2 separate regions of the Homo sapiens genome follow, and region 2 is linked to region 1. The links are contacts of gene promoters, found by promoter capture Hi-C in human tissues and cell types (Jung and others, 2019). All regions are on one chromosome and are shown on one strand. Each heading gives the region's core, a stretch centred on a gene start or on the middle of the fragment in contact. The rest is flanking DNA. Distances are from core to core; before and after follow the strand shown. Region 1 holds the start of ZNF816 (zinc finger protein 816). Region 2 overlaps LOC122539214 (Zinc finger protein LOC122539214).

The links. Contacts are between HindIII fragments. The study calls those that stand out against the background at their distance.
Region 2: a fragment that was not itself captured here is called in contact with the fragment with the promoter of ZNF816 in region 1 in 1 of the 25 tissues and cell types used here (liver).

Annotation. Positions count from the first base shown.
Region 1 is chr19:52,961,179-52,964,772 of GRCh38, reverse strand. It overlaps ZNF816 (zinc finger protein 816), which reads left to right and starts at 1,892. Exons shown (of 4, transcript NM_001202457.3): 1 at 1,892-2,046. ZNF816-ZNF321P (ZNF816-ZNF321P readthrough) reads left to right here and starts at 1,892. Exons shown (of 4, transcript NM_001202473.2): 1 at 1,892-2,056. RefSeq lists a silencer at 1,665-1,864 and an enhancer at 1,925-2,174. The HindIII fragment of the contact is 7,894 bases long and covers 1-3,594 here.
Region 2 is chr19:52,671,283-52,674,876 of GRCh38, reverse strand. The region is part of intron 1 of LOC122539214 (Zinc finger protein LOC122539214); the gene reads left to right. It also overlaps a transcript of ZNF83 not described here. Among named protein-coding and RNA genes, the nearest start is that of ZNF83, 35 kb to the right of the region's middle. RefSeq lists an enhancer at 368-867. The HindIII fragment of the contact is 8,097 bases long and covers 1-3,594 here.

The sequences.
Region 1 (3,594 bases), core at 643-3,142:
GCCTAAGCATCATAGTGGACCCCCGACTCTACAAAATATTAAAAAATTAGCCAGGCCTGGTGGTGAGGGCCTGTGGCCCCAGCTAGTTGGGAGGTGAGACGGGAGGATTGCTTGAGCCCCAGAGGTTGAGGTTGCAGTGGGCAGTGTTCCCACCACTGCATTCCATCCTGGGTGTCAGAACTAGGTCCTGTTTCTAGGGAAAAAAAAATTACAACTTGAAGATAAAAAGTACATTTTCTACTTATTTTCAGAAGGCACGTAAAGTGAATTTGATATTACAATACACTTAGGAATTATTTTTTAAAAAAAGAATTTGAGAATGAGGACCAAGGTCTAATTTTTTTCTCTTGCCCAAATTCCTATCTAAAGGGTCTGGGGAGTCATGCCCTACAAACCATAAATACTCATCAGATGGGTTTTATTTAGTCCTATATATCCTGTCTTACTTTCCAGTCTGACTCTGGAATAACGTGACAAAGAAGAAAGTCAAAATATTTTACCCCAAAACATGTTTCTGTGCCATATTTTGAAATGGTCCTGCAAAGCTGTTCTTTGTGAGGGGTACATGTGCATTTGTAAAGAATCTCTGTTAACATAGCTAGATCTTTTTCTTCTAGGCCCTACCAATCCTGAAGAGATTAAGTAAGAATCTCGCACTGTTTAAAGGTCTGAATAGAAAACACTTATCATCTATTATCTCTAAGGGCAGCCAATAGAAGACTTGAAAACAACATTGGTCTCCACAATCTTTTACCTTAACGTGAACATTTCCTCTCCGTTGATCCCAGGTATTTAGACAAACTCAACCAATTGTCAATCAGAAAATGTTTCAATTTACCTGTAGCCCAGAAGTCCCCGCTTTGAGTTGCCCCTCCTTTCTGAACCAAAGCAGCGTATTTCTTAAATGTATTTGATTGATGTCTAATGCCTCCCTAAAATGTCTAAGAACAAGCTGTTCCCCATCACCTTGGACACATGTTCTCAGGACCTCCTGAGGGTCATTCATATTTAGCTTAGAATAAATCTCTTAAGATATTTTACAGTTTGATTCTTTTCCACGACAAAAATAACTCATTTTAAGTGCAGCATGAAATAATAAACGTAAGAAACAACTGGGCAACTTATATGCACTGTTACAATGTCAGTGCTTTTTTTAAATCACTTTTTTGTTTATTGAGACGGAGGAGGGAGCTCTGGGATAGAGGGTCTTACTTTGTCGCCCAGGCTGGCCTGGAACTCCAGGCTCAGCGATCCTCTCGCCCCTGCTTCCTGAGTAGCGGGGACCCCAGACTCCTGCCACCCCGCCCGCATCCCTGCTGTGTTTAAGCACACTCCTCTGCTCCGCACCCCAGACGGTGGCCCTAGGGAAGTCTCAGGAGCTGAGCACAGTGTGGACTCTCCCACTCCAGTGAATGGAGAATTGAAAGGGAGAGGATTTCTATTCTGTTCTGTGGACCGTCAGCATGAAATTGTACCTTTCGCTCAGGCAAGGCTTTGCATTTCGCATTCTAGTTTGCATTCCTGCCGTAGACAACTTCCAGGCTTTGGAATTAAATTGCTAAAATAAATTTCAATAGCAAGGAACTTTCCCGGATCCAATTACCGCCACACGGCGACTTCTCAGGGAGGTACTATTTCCCTGACTGCTGAGCTGCTCCAGCCTCACTGGCGGGTTTCACCTCTAAAACCTTGAAAACAGAGGCGCGGAGAGCGAGATGGAGAAAAGCTCAGGCCCCGCCCCTTTCCCGCCCCCGCGGACTCCTCCCAGCCCAAGACTCTTCTCTTCCGCGCCGGGCCCCTTGTCCTTTGCACCCCGCCCCGGCCTCGCCCAGGCCCCGCCCACCTCTCGGGGATCTGGCCCAGGTCCCGCTTCTGTCCTGCGCCGATTGGCACAGACCCGGAAGCGGATGGCGTGGACTGAAAGTTGCACGGCGGCGTGTGCGTTTCCTAGTTGTCTGGTGCTGCTATATAGGGGACGTGGGGTCCCCACAGACCTGCAGGTTCCGGCCCCTCTTTTCTCAACCCAGAGCAAATTGAAACGTCCGGGTGAGAGTCCGTGAGTCGCTTCCTTTTGAGTTTAAAGTTGCCCTGAGGCTGGTCCCGTCCCCGGTCTTTCTGCAGTGGGGCCGTGCAGACACCTCCTGTCGCGAAACTTTCCTTAGCAAAACCCTTTCTGACGCGTCCTCCCGCCTCGCGCTGTTTCAAGTCCTCACCCGGAGCTGGATTCTTGCCCTGGGCAAGAGCGCTTCCCAGCCTCGCTCTAGTCGGCCCCTGGAGCGCAGCGTTGCAGCCCCGCAGCCCCAGGGTGGCCGGTGCTTTGTGGCCACTCCTGGGCTCTTTCCCTTTCCATCTGAGACGTGGTGGAAGTGGGAGGGCTACAGGGAGAGTACCCTTTGATCCTTTGTTACTACGGGTGGGGAGATGGGGTTATTCCTTTTGGTCTAGTTTTGCAAAGTTCACATTAATTGGCCTTAGATTCCCAGAGCCAGGACCCAGATTTTCACTTTTCTTCTTTGTTGTTGGAGATGGGTCTCTGTGCCTACAGACTAGTATAGCCTGTGCCTGGACTAGTATAGTATAGTATAGTCTCTGTGCCTGGACTAGTATAGTCCAGCGGGGGCCGTCCAGTCTCAATGAAATTCTGGATGAGCCTAGGCAGTCTGTAATTTAGAAAATTTACGTAATGAGTTCTTTTCAGTGTGGTTTAAGCCTCACCAAGTGACTGTCCTTGTTGTGCTGTTGTATACAACTTCTGTCCTAGACAATTGAGCTTTCTTACGGGGTTGCTGAAGTTTTTTCTTTCCTTAGCTACATAGTATTGTCTAATAACTGAGGTTTTTAGGACCTAGAAGTTGCTAGTTTGGGCCTTCTGAGCTGGAATTGTGTGAGGAACTGGATCAGTGGGCACCAACTCTCGGGCTTCCTGAGGCCATCGGTCTCCAACAGTAGTTCCTCCGCGTACATAACAAGAAGCAACATTGAGGGAATGAGCTACATTTTCCGTTAACTGGAGAAACAAGTTCCTTGTCTTTTTTGGAAGCTCTGGTGCTGGCAGATTTAGCTCATTATAAAAGGCTTGAAACACTGGTTTGGGAAAGGGCCTGGGGACCTCCCCTCGGACTAAAATGGCAACTTGGGGGGTTACCCTTGTCCTATTGACCGTCAGGATTACACCTTCTCTTTTTCTCTAACGGGGGTCTAGGGAATTAGTGATTATTAGTTCTAGTGGGTTACAGTGACTGCTAGCACAGGAGGGGTTGGCTTCTTTTTTTTGAAAGTGAACCGGGTCTTTTTTGTCATTTTTCTAAGTAGCCTAAATAACACATGGGCAACAGGCAAATTTTCACAGACCTCTGCCTCATGACAAACATTTATTTTCTACTGTGCAGCTCCTTTCTTAGTTAAGAGAGCCACATCTTAATCTGAGCTTGTTACTATTAATGGCTGCACAAGCATCAAATTTAAAGTTTCTTGTTTGGGGATTCTTTTTTCTTCTGTTCTAGTTATTATTTTACTTGTGTCACCTAGGAAAGGACCAGTTCTTAATCTTATTTGAAAAACGGTGGTTGCAGGAGGCTTAGATGGGTTATAACC
Region 2 (3,594 bases), core at 454-2,953, 290 kb after region 1:
AACTGATAGGGATTTGTATGGGCGTTGTGTTAAATCTAAATCATCTTGGGTTGTATAATCATTTAACGAGATTAAGTTTTCCAATCTATCAATATTGGTTGTATCTCTATGTTTTTAATCATTTTGATCAATGTTCATAGATTTCAAGGTAGAAACTTCTCGCATTTTTACGTTTATTCCTAAGTATATCTTAGTTTAAATTCTCTAGAAAATGGAAGTGTTTTCTTAATTTCCTTTTAAAATTTTTTACTGTTATTGCATGGAAATTCAACTAATTTTGGTGCTAATATTGTACTCTGCAAATCCACTGAATGTTTATTAGTTCCACTTGTATTTTGGTTGAGTCTTTGTGACTTTCTACACAGAGGATCGTGTCATCTACAAACAAATAAAATTTTATTTATTTCTTTCTGATTTGGATGAGTTTGATTTCTTTTGCTATTTCATTGCTCTGGCTAGGACAGTCAGTATTGATTGAATAGAAAGGGTGAGAACGTTCTAGCATCATGTGAGATCCTACAGGAAAAGCATTCAATTTTTCCTGATTGGTTATTTCAGCTGTGGTCATTTCATGGATGGTCTTTTATATTGTTGAGGTAAATTTCCTTCTTTATTTTGTTTAGGGTTTCTATGATGACAGGATGGTCCTAAGTCTTCACACATCAGGGCCACAGCCCCAACCTCACAGGAAACAGGTGATCTTTTGAAAGGCTTAAGGCCCAAGAGTTCATTTGAGGGCTTTTTAACCTGTGGATTTGGTCTAGAGCCATATCAGAGGGTTGTGTCTGTGTGAGTGTGCAAATGTGTGGTGCTTTCCAAGTTCAGTTGACATTGGTAATTTTTTTTTTTTTTTTTTTTTTTGAGATGGAGTCTCACTCTGTTACCCAGGCTGCAGGGCAGTGGCATGATCTCGACTCACTGCGGCCTCCACCTCTCAGCTTCAACCAATTCTCCTGCCTCAGCCTCCCTAGTAGCTGGGATTACAGGCACACACCACCAGGCCCGGTTAATTTTTTGTATTTTTAGTAGAGATAGGGTTGCACCATGTTGACCAGGCTGGTCTCGAACTTTTGACCTGAGGTGATTGGCCCACCTCAGCCTCCCAAAGAGCCACTGCTCCTGGCCTAATAATTTTTTATTTATTTATTTTTTTGAGTTGGAGTCTCACTCTGTCACCCAGGCTAGAGTGCAGTTGCATGATCTCTGTCTCCAGAAAAAACAAAAAACAAAAAGATAATATTTGCATCGTTATTGGCTCATTTTTGATTACTTGGGAAAACAGCTTTCAAAAGCTTAAGGTTTTTAAATACATGTGACTTTCTATATTTTTTTTCTGATGTTCTGTTTATAGCATTTTGTGTGTGTGTGTGTGTGTGATGGAGTTACACTCTTCTTGTGTACCCTGGAGTGTAGTGGTGCGATCTCAGCTCACTGCAACCTCTGCCTTCTTGGCTCAAATGATTCTCCTGCCACAGCCTCCTGAATATCTGAGATTACAGGCATGCGCCATCACCCTCGGCTAATTTTGTATTTTTTTAGAGACAGGGTTATACCATGTTGGTCAGGCTGGTCTCGAACTCTTGACCTCAGGGGATCCACCCATCTTGGCTCCCAAAGTGCTGGGATTCAAGCATGAGCCACTGTGCCCAGCCATTTGTTTAGTTTTTTGAGATGGAGTCCAGCTCTTTCGCACAGTCTGGAATGCAGTGGTGCAATCTCCACTCACTGCAACCTCTGCTCCCTGGGTTTAAGTGATTCTCATGCCTCAGTCTCCTGAGTAGCTGGGATTACAGGCTCACATCCAGTTTTTTTTGTATTTTTGGTAGAGACAGGGCTTATAGGTTTGAGCCACCACACCTGGCCATCCCCATTTTTATATGTACAATTTAATCATTGACTACAGTCATTCTGTTGTGTTATGAAATAATAGGTCTTATTCTATTTTTTGTACCCATTATCATGTTCTATTTATTAATTATTTCTGATTAAAATAAACTTTTTTGCCATGCACGGTGGCTCATGTCTGTAATCCCAGCACTTTGGAAGGTCAGGATTTGGAGACCAGCCTGGCCAACACGGTGAAACCCCGTCTCTACTAAAAATACAAAAATTAACCCAGCATGATGGCGAGCACCAATAATCCCAGCTACCTGGGAGGCTGAGGCAAGAGAATCATTTGAACCCAGGAGGCAGATGTTGCAGTGAGCCGAGACCGTGCCATTGCACCCCAGCCTAGGCAACAAGAACCAAACTCAATCTCAAAAATAAATAAGTAACTTAATTAATTTTTAAAACATAAAGATGAGGTGCTATGTTGCCTAGGCTGGACTCCAACTGTTGGGCACTAGCCATCCTCCTGCCTCAGCCTCCCATCATGCTCGGATTACAGGCACAAGCCACCATGCCTGACGACATTATGCTTTTTTAAACTTGCTAATATTCTAGATATGCTAATTTCCCTTCTAAATGTAATCATATTTTAGCTAATTACTAGTGTTTGATAGATGAATTCTTCCATAGCTAGGGATGTGGGAGAAAAACATAGTTCATAGTACATGTTAACTTACAGATATAGTCATAAAAGTATTACATGCAGAAATGAGGTGATTTATAATTTCATTTTATTTTTATTTTTATTTTTTTGAGACAGAATCTCACTCTTTTGCTCAGGCTGGAGAGCTGTGGTGAGATCTTTGCTCACTGCAACCTCTGCCTCCTGGATTCAAGAGATTCTCCTGCCTCAATCTCCTGAGTAGCTGAGATTACAGTTTTGTGCCACCTTACCCAGCTAATTGTTGTATTTTTAGTACAGATGGGGTTTCACCATGTTAGCCAGGCTAGTCTCAATCTCCTGACCTCTGGGTCATCCACCTGCCTCGACCTCCCAAAGTGCTGGGATTACAGGTGTGAGTCAATGTGCCCAGCCAATTTTATAACTTAGTTATATTTTTTCAGGGCCCAAGTAAAACGGAATAACTTGACTGCAATGTATTCTTAGTAATATTTCATGATCTTTCTCTATATGAAAATAAATCCTAACATTTAAAGACTGCATATTTTATAGCCTTTGTTATTCCCACCTGATAGAACACTCAGGAGAGAATAACAAAGAAAACACCTAAAATAGATTGCAATTGGATGGGTGTGGTGGCTTGCCTGTAACCCCAACACTTTGGGAAGCAAAGGTGGGTTGATCGCTTGAGTCCAGGAGTTGAAGGCTAGCCTGAGCATCATAGTGGGACCACCCCTCTACAAAGTACTAACAAATTAGCCAGGCTTGGTGGTGAGGGCCTGCAGCTCCAGCTAGTTGGGAGGTGTGGCGGGAGGATTGCTTGAGCACCAGAGGTTGAGGGTGCAAGGAGCAGTGTTCCTGCCACTGCATTCCAGCCGGGGTGACAGAACTAGGTCCTGTCTGAAGGAAAAAAAAAAAGTACAACTTGAAGATAAAAGGTACATTTTCTAATTTTTTCAGAAGGCACATAGAGTGAATTTAATATTACAATACATTTATAAATTATTGATGTTAGCATATTATGTTGTCAACAACATTTATCGTAAAAGTAGTTATATTGCAGGGAAGAACTGTAAAAAAAA